Regions from separate parts of the Homo sapiens genome. Here region 1 is linked to region 2. The links are contacts of gene promoters, found by promoter capture Hi-C in blood cells and fetal thymus (Javierre and others, 2016). All regions are on one chromosome and are shown on one strand. The core of a region is centred on a gene start or on the middle of the fragment in contact, and the rest is flanking DNA. Distances in the headings are between cores, read along the strand shown.

Region 1 (4,879 bases), core at 703-3,202, 320 kb before region 2:
CTGTGATCTCATAATCCACCAGCAGACCCCTCCTGTGTACCCCTCTGTGTACTCCTGCTGTGTACCTGGAGACCCCCAGGTCTCCAGGGGTCAAACCACACCCCACAGGCACCTTGGAAGAAGAAATCCACAGGAGGAAAAAAAGAAGTAGGAATCTTGGTAGCTGGGAGAGTTCTGAGAGGGCATCTCAGGCAGCTGTGATGGGTTCAAGAGGAAATGGAGGCTTGGGTGCACTTCCCTGGTCTCCACCTCCTTCAAAGAGAACCCAGGGAGGAGGAAAGTGTGACCTTGAGCCTGTCCAGGGCTTCTGCCTGCCTGGCTGACCCAGAGCGGGTTGGATTCCATGCTCTGTGAAGGCCTTTGAGGTCCTAACAGTCAGGGGTTCTCGAAGTCCATGATTGTAAGCAGCCCGACTGGGGCTGGGGGGCGATGGGGAAGGGTGTCCCCTGCTCCCCCACCTCCTTCTGCCAAGGCTGCAGAGGGAACAGAGGCCGTTGCCTTCTGAAGGATTTGTCACAAAGCGCGGTGGTCGGTTACCGGTTACCACATAAGCCAAGGCCTTGATCTGCTGTGTTTGAGGAAACCCTTTGTTCCTTTCAAGTCTCTATTCTCTGAGCCAGGGCTAGTGCGGAGACCGAAGCAGTGAGCTTTCTCTTTCTTCCTTTTCTTTTTGGATTTTTAAAAATAACTGGCTTGCGCATTCAGGCGGTGTTCCAGAATTGGGTTCCCAGGCTGTGGTTCAGGGCCAGGGACTCCAGCAGCCCCTTCATCCCAGGAAGGCCTCGGGGGAGGGAGAGCCTAAGGGCTGATGGGGAGGGGAGGGCACACACAGGTGCTTGTGAGAGGCTTGGGCTCAGGAACCAACACTGAGGGGAGACTGAAGATGGGGTTCTAACTCTGGCTATGCACCCCATGCATGCCCAGTGCATCTTCTTCTGGACCTCAGTTTTTTTCAGTGCAGGGTTGGAGGCCAGAGCAGAGATGGCCACTTTTTCCCATGGCTGAGTCTATGCCAGACATTGCTCATCAATTGCCCTTCCCCACGGAGCTTGGATAAGCCCCAAGAAGTCTTTTCAACACCGTGCTCTGGGTATCTACTGCCAATTGCATTTGGCATGCAAAGTGAGACCTGCTTCCTGTCCTGAGAGAAGATCATCTCTGAGGCACCAATATGAAGTGGGGATGCAATAAATATTTTTTGGATGAATGGGCACTGCTTTTTTTAGCCCTTACTTCATGCCAGGCATTGTTCTGAGTACTGTTTAGAACATGCCAGGCATTGTTCTAAACGTTGAACAAAACAAAGTTCCTGACCTCAATCTCACATGTGAGGGAGACAGGCAATAAGCAAATGAACAGAGAAACAGATCAAATGTCAGGTGGTGATCAGAGCCATAAAGAAAAATTAAAACAATAGAGAGTGACAGGCTGTGGGTCGGTAGGGGGGAACGTTGTGGATAAGGTACCCAGAGAAGATCTTCTGGGAAAGAGATATGGAGTAGACAAAGTGACAGTCTCCTCAGAGCCCATCACTCTAGGACTTTGAGTCTAAATTTGTCTGACTTTAAGATTCTAATTTCATTGAGTAAGATTCTAGAATCTCGTGAATCTAGGAACCTATAACCAAAATTATAGATTTTCACTGCTCTCATATTCCATGACAATGATGCTAGAATTCTGTGACTCTGAAATTCTAGGCTTCACTGATGCATCTTTTTGCTTGAACAGACCAGGATTCATTGCCTACCCTCTCCCCACTACCCCTAGGAAATGGAGCTGAAAATAGAAACAGTCAAAACAACAAGCCATTCCAGCTCTAAGTGCCATAGTAAACAAATGGTCCAATGTTGCTCTGATAGTTTAATTGCGGCAGTTCCAGACAAGCCCATTCATGAAGGATCTTTAGTTGATGGAGAGGAGGAGTGAGCACCCAGGGAAGGGATGGCTTGTAGGGCAGGCACTTGGGGGAGGTCTGCGTCACGACCCCAGCTGAGGATGATGCTCTGGGAAGCCTGTTGGGTTTCAGCAGCCAAAGCATTGGTATTTGGATCAGGCCCCTTGGCCTTTAAGGACCACAATGGTGGCTATTTTAACTGGCAAAGTAAAGAAGTGTCTCTTTGAGGATGTGGCATTAGAGCTAGACTGGAAGACTTAAGAAGATACTAGCTTGACAGAAATCCAGGGAAGTGAGTCCCAGGCAAAGGGGAAGAGCAGATTCAAAGGTCCTGAGGTGAGAGAGAGCTTGGCAGGTTCCCCAAGTATTCAGAGCATAGGACAGAGAGGAGATGATATCAGAGGGATAAGCAGGGGCTGTTTCCTATAGGGGTTTGGAGGTCAGGGTTAGGAATATGGAAGCCACTGGAAGGTTTTTAACAGGGGAGTGACATGATATAAATCCATATTCAAAAGATTACTAAGTGCTTTGAGTAGAAGAGACTACTGGGGGCAAGAGTAGAAACTGAAAGACCAGTGAGAGACCCCAGTGTTTCAGTGAGAAATGATGGTTGTTTGGATTTAGATGGTGGCAGTGGGTCCATCTGTTTGTCTACCGCTTTGTTCTTCCCTCCTTTCTTCCATTCTTCTATCTCTTCATCCATCCATTCATCCATCCACCCATCCATCCACCCACCCATCCATCCACCCACCCATCCATCCACCCACCAACCCATCCACCCATTCATCCACCCACCCATCCATCCATGCATGCATCCATCCATCCATCCATCCATCCATCCATCCATCCATCCACCCTCCCATCCACCCACCCACCCATCCATCCATCCATCCATCCACCCACCCACCCATCCATCCATCCATTAACTAAACACTCAGAGCCAGGGGCTGTGCTGGGTGTGTCTATGGGGAGTCAGGTACAATGCTGAGATAACAAGAATGAAATACACATGGTTCCCAGCCTAAGGGGCTTACAAAACAGCAGGGTACACAAAATTGCAATGTAATGTTATGAATGCTCCAGTTAAGGAATGCATGAAGCACCGAGAGAGCTCATGGGAGGTAATTCCCTATGCTCTGTCCTGGAGGAGATACTGATGTTTGAGTTGGGCCTTTCGAAGGACACGGGAGTTGGACAGGCAGCAGAAGAGTGTTCCTGGCAGGGGCACACAGCTTGAGTAAAAAGCAAGGAGGCAGCATGAGTGAGCATGGCCGGTTCTGGAAATGTACAGATGTCTAGGTTGGTTGAATCAACAGATGCGAGTGGGGACGCTGTGGGAGAGGAGTTTGGGTCAACTTGGGAAGACGTGGAGCAGCATATGCCCATGACTGGGCCTGCCCCTTCCGCTCAGCTCTGCCTGCCCCTATCAGAGCTGAATAATTGAATTAAGTACCAGCTCTTAAACAAGATGCAGCTGTTTAGCAGATGTTGCTTCCACCCCAGATGGAGGTGCATCTTGGCGACGGGCACAACATTTCGAAGGCGTCTAATTTGTGAGGCTGTGGAGAGGAAAGAACTTCAAGATGCTGGCATTATTATTTAATAACCATCATTAATTACACACTCCCTCCCTCCAGCACCACTGCATGTCAAACATTCCTGCCGGATTGGGACTGGGGGCACAGAGGCGGGCTGGCAGGTGGGCTTGGGGGTTGGACTTGCTGGTTCTGATTCAGAAAAACAAAAGAAGAAAAGGGAATAAAGTCATCAATCCACAAAGCCTTCAAGAACTTTTATAATAATGGAAAATGACTTCTCTTGCATTTTTCATAAAATGAGTACAAATAATAACTGCTATTGATTGAACCCCCACTCAGAGCCAGGGGCTGTGCTGGGTGTGTCTTAGACATTGCCTCCAATTCCCTAATCCTCCCAACAGCCACGCATGGCCCTACCTCAGGGCCTTTGCCCTTGATGTCTCCTCCGACTGGGAAGGTTCTTCCTTCAGACACCCACATGGCTAACTCCCCTACATCTTTCAAAGCTCCACTTAAATGTCAGCTCCCCAGAGAGGCCTTCCCTGACCACCACTCCCTGAAATAATGTCCTCCACATTCTTGACCTCCTTCCCTTGCTTTTTCTTTCATCACCTGATATACGTATATTTGTTAATTGTCTATTTCTCCCTTTTAGATTTTAAGCTCCCAAGGGCAAGGATTTTTGTTTCATTCACTGTGGCCTCCCCAGCACTCAAAACAATGCTTGACACAGGACAGAGTTCTTTTTTCTTTTTTGAGATGGAGTCTGGCTCACTTGCCCAGGCTGAAGTGCAGTGGCACGATCTTGGCTCACTATAACCTCTGTCTCCTGGGTTCAAGCGATTCTCCTGTCACAGCCTCTGGAATAGCTGGGATTACAAGTGCACGCCACCATGTCCAGCTATTTTTTTTTCTTTTTTGGGGGGGTATTTTTAGTAGAGATGTGATTTCATCATATTGGCCGGGCTGGTATCCAACTCCTGACCTCAGTGACCCGCCTGCATCGGCCTCCTGAAGTGCTGGGATTACAGGCATGAGCCACCGTGCCTGGCCCAGAGTTCTATAAATATTTGTTCAATGGGTGGGTGATTCATCAGTGGGTCTCATTAAAAAATGTGCAGAAGAGTGTTAGGGAGATAAAATCTCTTTCCCAGGCATTACACAGCCAGCAAAGAGCAAGCTGAGATTTGAATTCAGCTCTGTCTAATTCTAAAGCTCTGCTCTTTTCATTAAGGACTTTGTTTTTCTTCTCCAAAGAACTTATTACCACTTACATATTATTATTATTATTTTTGAGACGAAGTCTTGCTCTGTTGCCCAGGCTGGAGTGCAGTGGCATGATCTCGGCTCACTGCAACCTCCGCCTCCCAGGTTCAAGTGATTATCATGCCTCAGCCTCCCGAGTAGCTGGGATTACAGGCATGTGCCACCACGCCCTTGTATTTTT
Region 2 (4,894 bases), core at 1,853-4,352:
CCAATTCTCACGTATCTGCCCCCTCTTCATGGCTAGAGAAGCAAGCATGCCTCTCCTTTTACCTTCCAAATCTAAGCAAGAACCTCTCCTTGGTTCATTATTCTCTCCTAGAATAATGATGGTAAAGAGTTACAGAAAATGCAGTTCTTAGGCTTTTAGAACCTCCAAAAAAAGAGGAGAGCATAGAAAAAGTGGAGATAGATGCTGATTGCAAAGACACCAGTGTTGCTCTTTTTAAGACTGGTATTTACTTGATTGCTGCTAAGGTTGAACGCTTTCCCTGTGCTTGCTTAGTATGTTTTCCATTTTATGGTAAACAATCAAAAAGCTGTTGTTTTAACAAAGTTCCATTTTTGTAGTGGAAGGAAAAAAAGCTTTATGGGTAGACTTGTGTTCTATATATACCTCGGGTGCTCTTGTTGAGGATAACTTAACTCAGGCTAGTAATAGACACTATAGTTCATGTGATACCCAAGCACACTGACCAGGAGGAATGCCACTGTTCCTAGTTACTGAGCAATTATCGCAAGCCAGTGCTTCACGCGCAATCGCATTTCATGTGTTTTATAGATGACGTGACAGATATAACATTTTTAACTATTTCCTTTTGCATTTCTCCACCTCCCAGCAGTTTAATTCCTTCCCTGGAAGCTTTTTTCCTATTCTAAGCTGGAGTGTGAGACTTGCTGTCTTGAGGAAGGGGCAGGAGGGATTCCATCTAGAACAAAGAAGGCCAGCTGTTAGGAAGAAGACTGAGATTAGGAAAGTCCCTACCAGAAGGAAAAGAAGGGGAACTCCTCCCCTTATGACTTGGTGAGGAAGTAAGAAAAAGAGGGAGAAGACAGGGGTTGAGATGCTAGAGTCCTGCCAACCCCACAGTCCTGAGGTCCAAATGCTGGGGTGGGGTGGGAATGGAGTTTAGGGATTCCTACAGCATAAGGGATCATGGCCTGTCTTCCCAGGGTGTTCATAGTCCACGACATCACAAAGAAACCATATTCAACCTGGCTTCTGAGCACTAGATCAGAAACAGTAAAGGAAATGAATGTCTTCAAAAACTGGTGACTGTGGTTAACCCTAAGGAAAGTAATGTCTGGGAGCCCTATAAATGAGACACTGAGACCTCTGAATTTTGTACCTGTAGATGCCCATGGCAGATAAATCACAAAAATATCCACAATTCTATACCCCCTCTTTGTATCCACACCTTTTGCAATTAGGCTTTGCAGTTCCCTAACAAGAGGCAAAGTCTATTTTCCATTCCTTGAATCTTGTCTGGTCTTGTAACTTGATGTGGCCAAAAGAATATGGCAGAAGTTTCCTTGTACCTTGCACTGTCTCTCAAAACTGCCCCTTTCATGAGAACAAGACTAAGTTAGTGTCCTGGAAGATGAGAGACCACATAGAGGACAGCTGAGGTACCTGGGTTAACAATCAGTCAACCGCAGTAACAAAGCCACCTAGCCAACCTGCAGCTGACCTCAAGTGCATGAACATTCCCAGCCAAAATCTGCTGAGATGAGAAGACCGAACCACCAAATGGAGCCCTGACTGAATTGTCAACCCACAAAATAGTAAATTAACTGAACATTTAGTTTTTAAGCTTCTAAATTTTGGGGTGCTTTGTTATGCAGCAATAGCTAACCAATACAATGCCTTGCCTATTAAAATAAAATTATTTGTAAGTAAAACTTTAGAAAAAAACAATAGCTGAGAAAGAAATCTGCATAGATGAGCAGGTGATTCAGAAATTCCCGTGTAAGAATGACATGGAAAGTACTGAGGGTCTGGTGGAATCATCTAGGCTTGTGGCCCTTTCAAAGAAGTTTCACTATATAGATCTCATTGACAGGAGAACAAGTAGAGGGAGTAATGGAATTGAGCAGGGGTATCAATGCAAGGCCTCAAAAGTCTAGAAAAGACCAGTCACAGACCCAGTGCAAAGTCCTTGGGGACCAGGCCAGACTAACCTCCTCATAGTAGACACCAGACCTCTGGGACCCAGGGGACATACTCAGATCCAAGGCCTGCCACCCTGTTGCTGGAGAATCTTCAGCTTCCTCTGCACCCAGAACCTTCTGAAGCATGAGGGAGGAAGTGAAATAATGAAAGGCTGAGTTGTTCTTGTACTTTTCCCTGAGTTAATTAAAAGACTGAGTTAACCTAAAAGACAATGGTGAAAGCCTATAGAGTGCTTACTCCACCCCACACATGCTACCACATTTTTATTCCTGTTTTACAGATGAGGAAACCGAGGCATAAAGTGGTCAAATGATTGTCCTAAGGTCACACAGCCAGACTGAGTAAAGCCAAGATTTGAACCCAGACAGTGTGGCTAAAGAGATTGCCTGGATTGCATGAATTGGCAAGATTAAGCTTTTCCTTCTTGATAGCCAGCACCAGGAGGCTCCTGAGGAAGTTCAGATCACTTACAGGAAACAAAGATGCCACAAACGCAAATGTTTGCACAATCTGAGTATGTTTCACTTGGACCCCAGGAAACAGAGGCTGAGAGAGTTACACATGATTATACTTTTAGGAATTAGGCCTGTACCCTCCCTGCAGTGCTAAAAGGAGGCCCCCATGGGGCTTGCTTTATAATAAATCCTTCTTCTTAAGCAATGTCACCTCCTCTACTTTCTGCACATCATGAATAATAATGGTTAATATGTTTAGCATTTACATTGTTCTGTGCCCTCACATTATTTCTCATAATCTTACCAAAACTGTTCTGAGGAGGGAACTGCCGTTGTTCCTACGCTGCAGATGAAGAAACAAAAGGCTCAGAAATGGGAAGTGACTTTGAAATCTTGCACAGCCAAGAAGAGGAAGATCCAATGTTTGCTCCAAATTCCACCCGATTCTGGAGTGCGTCCTATGACCTCAGTGCCCACCTCCCTCCCGGGCACCTAGGATGGAGCCTATGGCAAGGTTTTAGCACAGTGACTACAGGAATCACAGCCCAGACACAAAAGCAGGAAACCCTTTGACCGGGCTCCTTCCTATTGCACCAACAGCCTTGTGTTGCTGCAATGAAAACACTTCCCCAAGCAGCTGTGGCCAAGAGACGCAGAAACTGCCTTGTCCACGGGCCCCGCCTCAGACTCCAACACTCACAAGAGAGCAGAGGAGCCCCAAGTCTTGGGGACCACAGAAGATGCCATGTGCTCCACGATGTCGGCCCCCACCTGCCTGGCCCACTTGCCTCCCTGCTTCCTGCTGCTGGCACTGGTCCTTGTCCCCTCAGGTAAGTGGGGTCTAGGATAGAACAGGGTCCACCCCCGGCTGGTCAGTCCCTAGAGGGGCACTAAGTGCTCTGCCATGCCTGAAGAAGCTTGACCCCATGAAGATAGAGTAAAGAGGGGTCCACTGAAAATTTGCCTGACTCCGGCAGAGGGCACCCCCAGTGTCCCAAGAAGCAGCGTAGTGAAGTGATAAGCTCCCAGGCTCTGCGCTCACACCCACTGGCTTCCAGCTTGATTGCTCCTATGCCCACGTCAGATGCTGCAGCTCTTTTAGCCCCAGGAGCCTCTTCTACAAAACAGGGACGCTCATGGGACCTTTCTCTAGGGCTACTGTGAGTATTAAATAGAAAAGTGGTGAGGCTCAGCCCTGGGCCGGCTGCATAGTTTATGAGACCCACTGCAAAATGAAAACTGCGGTCTTTTGTTCAAAAAGTATTGAGCAACACAGCAGAGCAGTAAACCAAGCATGGGCTCCTTCTAAGCACAGGGCCCTGTGCGACTACATAGATGGCACAGCCATGAACCAGCCCTGGCTCAGCTTAAGACGCAGTAGGCTCAAACCTCACCACTAACCAGTTTAAGTAATTTCTTTCTGAGCCTCAGTTTTTCCAACTGTAAAATGGAGCTAAAAATAGGACCCACCTTGGGACTTTCTTAGGAGAATTTAACAAGATAATACCCATAAGTGCCTGGCATAACAAAGATTTGATAACTCTTGGCGATTATTATTATCATTCCCATGTTTCCTCTAACTCAGGGGCAGGCCAGGTTAGCTCCAGAGTCTTGAGACCCCTGAATATATAGCTCAGCCTCTGAGTCCAGAACTCTCTGATCTACCAGGCAGGGATACTTGGCTCTCAGTGGGCTCATTCCATCTCCTGCCCATCTGGGCCTCTGCTCCAGGCTCTACTGAGATCTAGATTCTGTCCATGACATCTTTGGTCCTCCGGGGTGGCCATCCCCAGGAGAGATCCTGGCAGAACCCAGGTGTGGGGTCGGACCTAGGTGCTCCCTTACTCATTGGCCGTATGACTCAAGACACCACTTCAATTCTCTAAGCTGATTTCCTCAATTCTAAGATGTGAATCATAATTGCTAGGTCTCATTCCACAGGTACTTTTGAGTGTCTGCTATGTTTTAGGCACTAGACTAGGAAATCAGAAATCTAAACTACTCAGAATAAAAAATATTCCCAATGATTGTTGCAATAGAATAGATGGAAAATAAGAGAAGTTGCTTAAACCAGTCAGTTGGAATGTTTGAGTCCAGCTGCATCTCAAGCTGAGTCAGGGCTGGTTCTTGGGTGTGCCCTCTATATAGTGGCACAGAGCCTCCTGCTTAGAAGGGCCCCATGCTTGGTTTAATGTTCTGCTGTGTTGCTCAATAGTTTTTGAACAAGGGACCTGCATTCCCGTTTTGCACTTGGCCTCACAAATTACGTAGCTGGCCCAGGATTGAGCCTCACCACTTCTCTATTTAATACTCACAGCAGCCCCGAGAAAAATATGAGTGCCCCTATTTTGCAGTAGAGGAGACTGGGGCTAACACATTTTCTATAAGGCTTTTAAAGGGAGCCCCATACAGGAACCATGAAAGGCAGAGGATGCAGATGGAAAATAGATGAGAAGGTCCAGCTCCACTGACAAGGC

Evidence for each region. Contacts are between HindIII fragments. The CHiCAGO score rates a contact against its expected background, and 5 or more counts as called.
Region 1: a contact is called between a fragment that was not itself captured here and the fragment with the promoter of SIRPB2 in region 2, in 1 of 17 cell types (M1 macrophages). The highest score is 5.1, in M1 macrophages.

The regions. Positions count from the first base shown.
Region 1 is chr20:1,812,837-1,817,715 of GRCh38, reverse strand. No RefSeq gene overlaps it. Among named protein-coding and RNA genes, the nearest start is that of SIRPA, 80 kb to the left of the region's middle. RefSeq lists a silencer at 1,099-1,393. The HindIII fragment of the contact is 7,477 bases long and covers 1-4,879 here.
Region 2 is chr20:1,489,628-1,494,521 of GRCh38, reverse strand. SIRPB2 (signal regulatory protein beta 2) reads left to right here and starts at 3,102. Exons shown (of 5, transcript NM_001122962.2): 1 at 3,102-3,247. The coding sequence starts at 3,163. The HindIII fragment of the contact is 958 bases long and covers 2,379-3,336 here.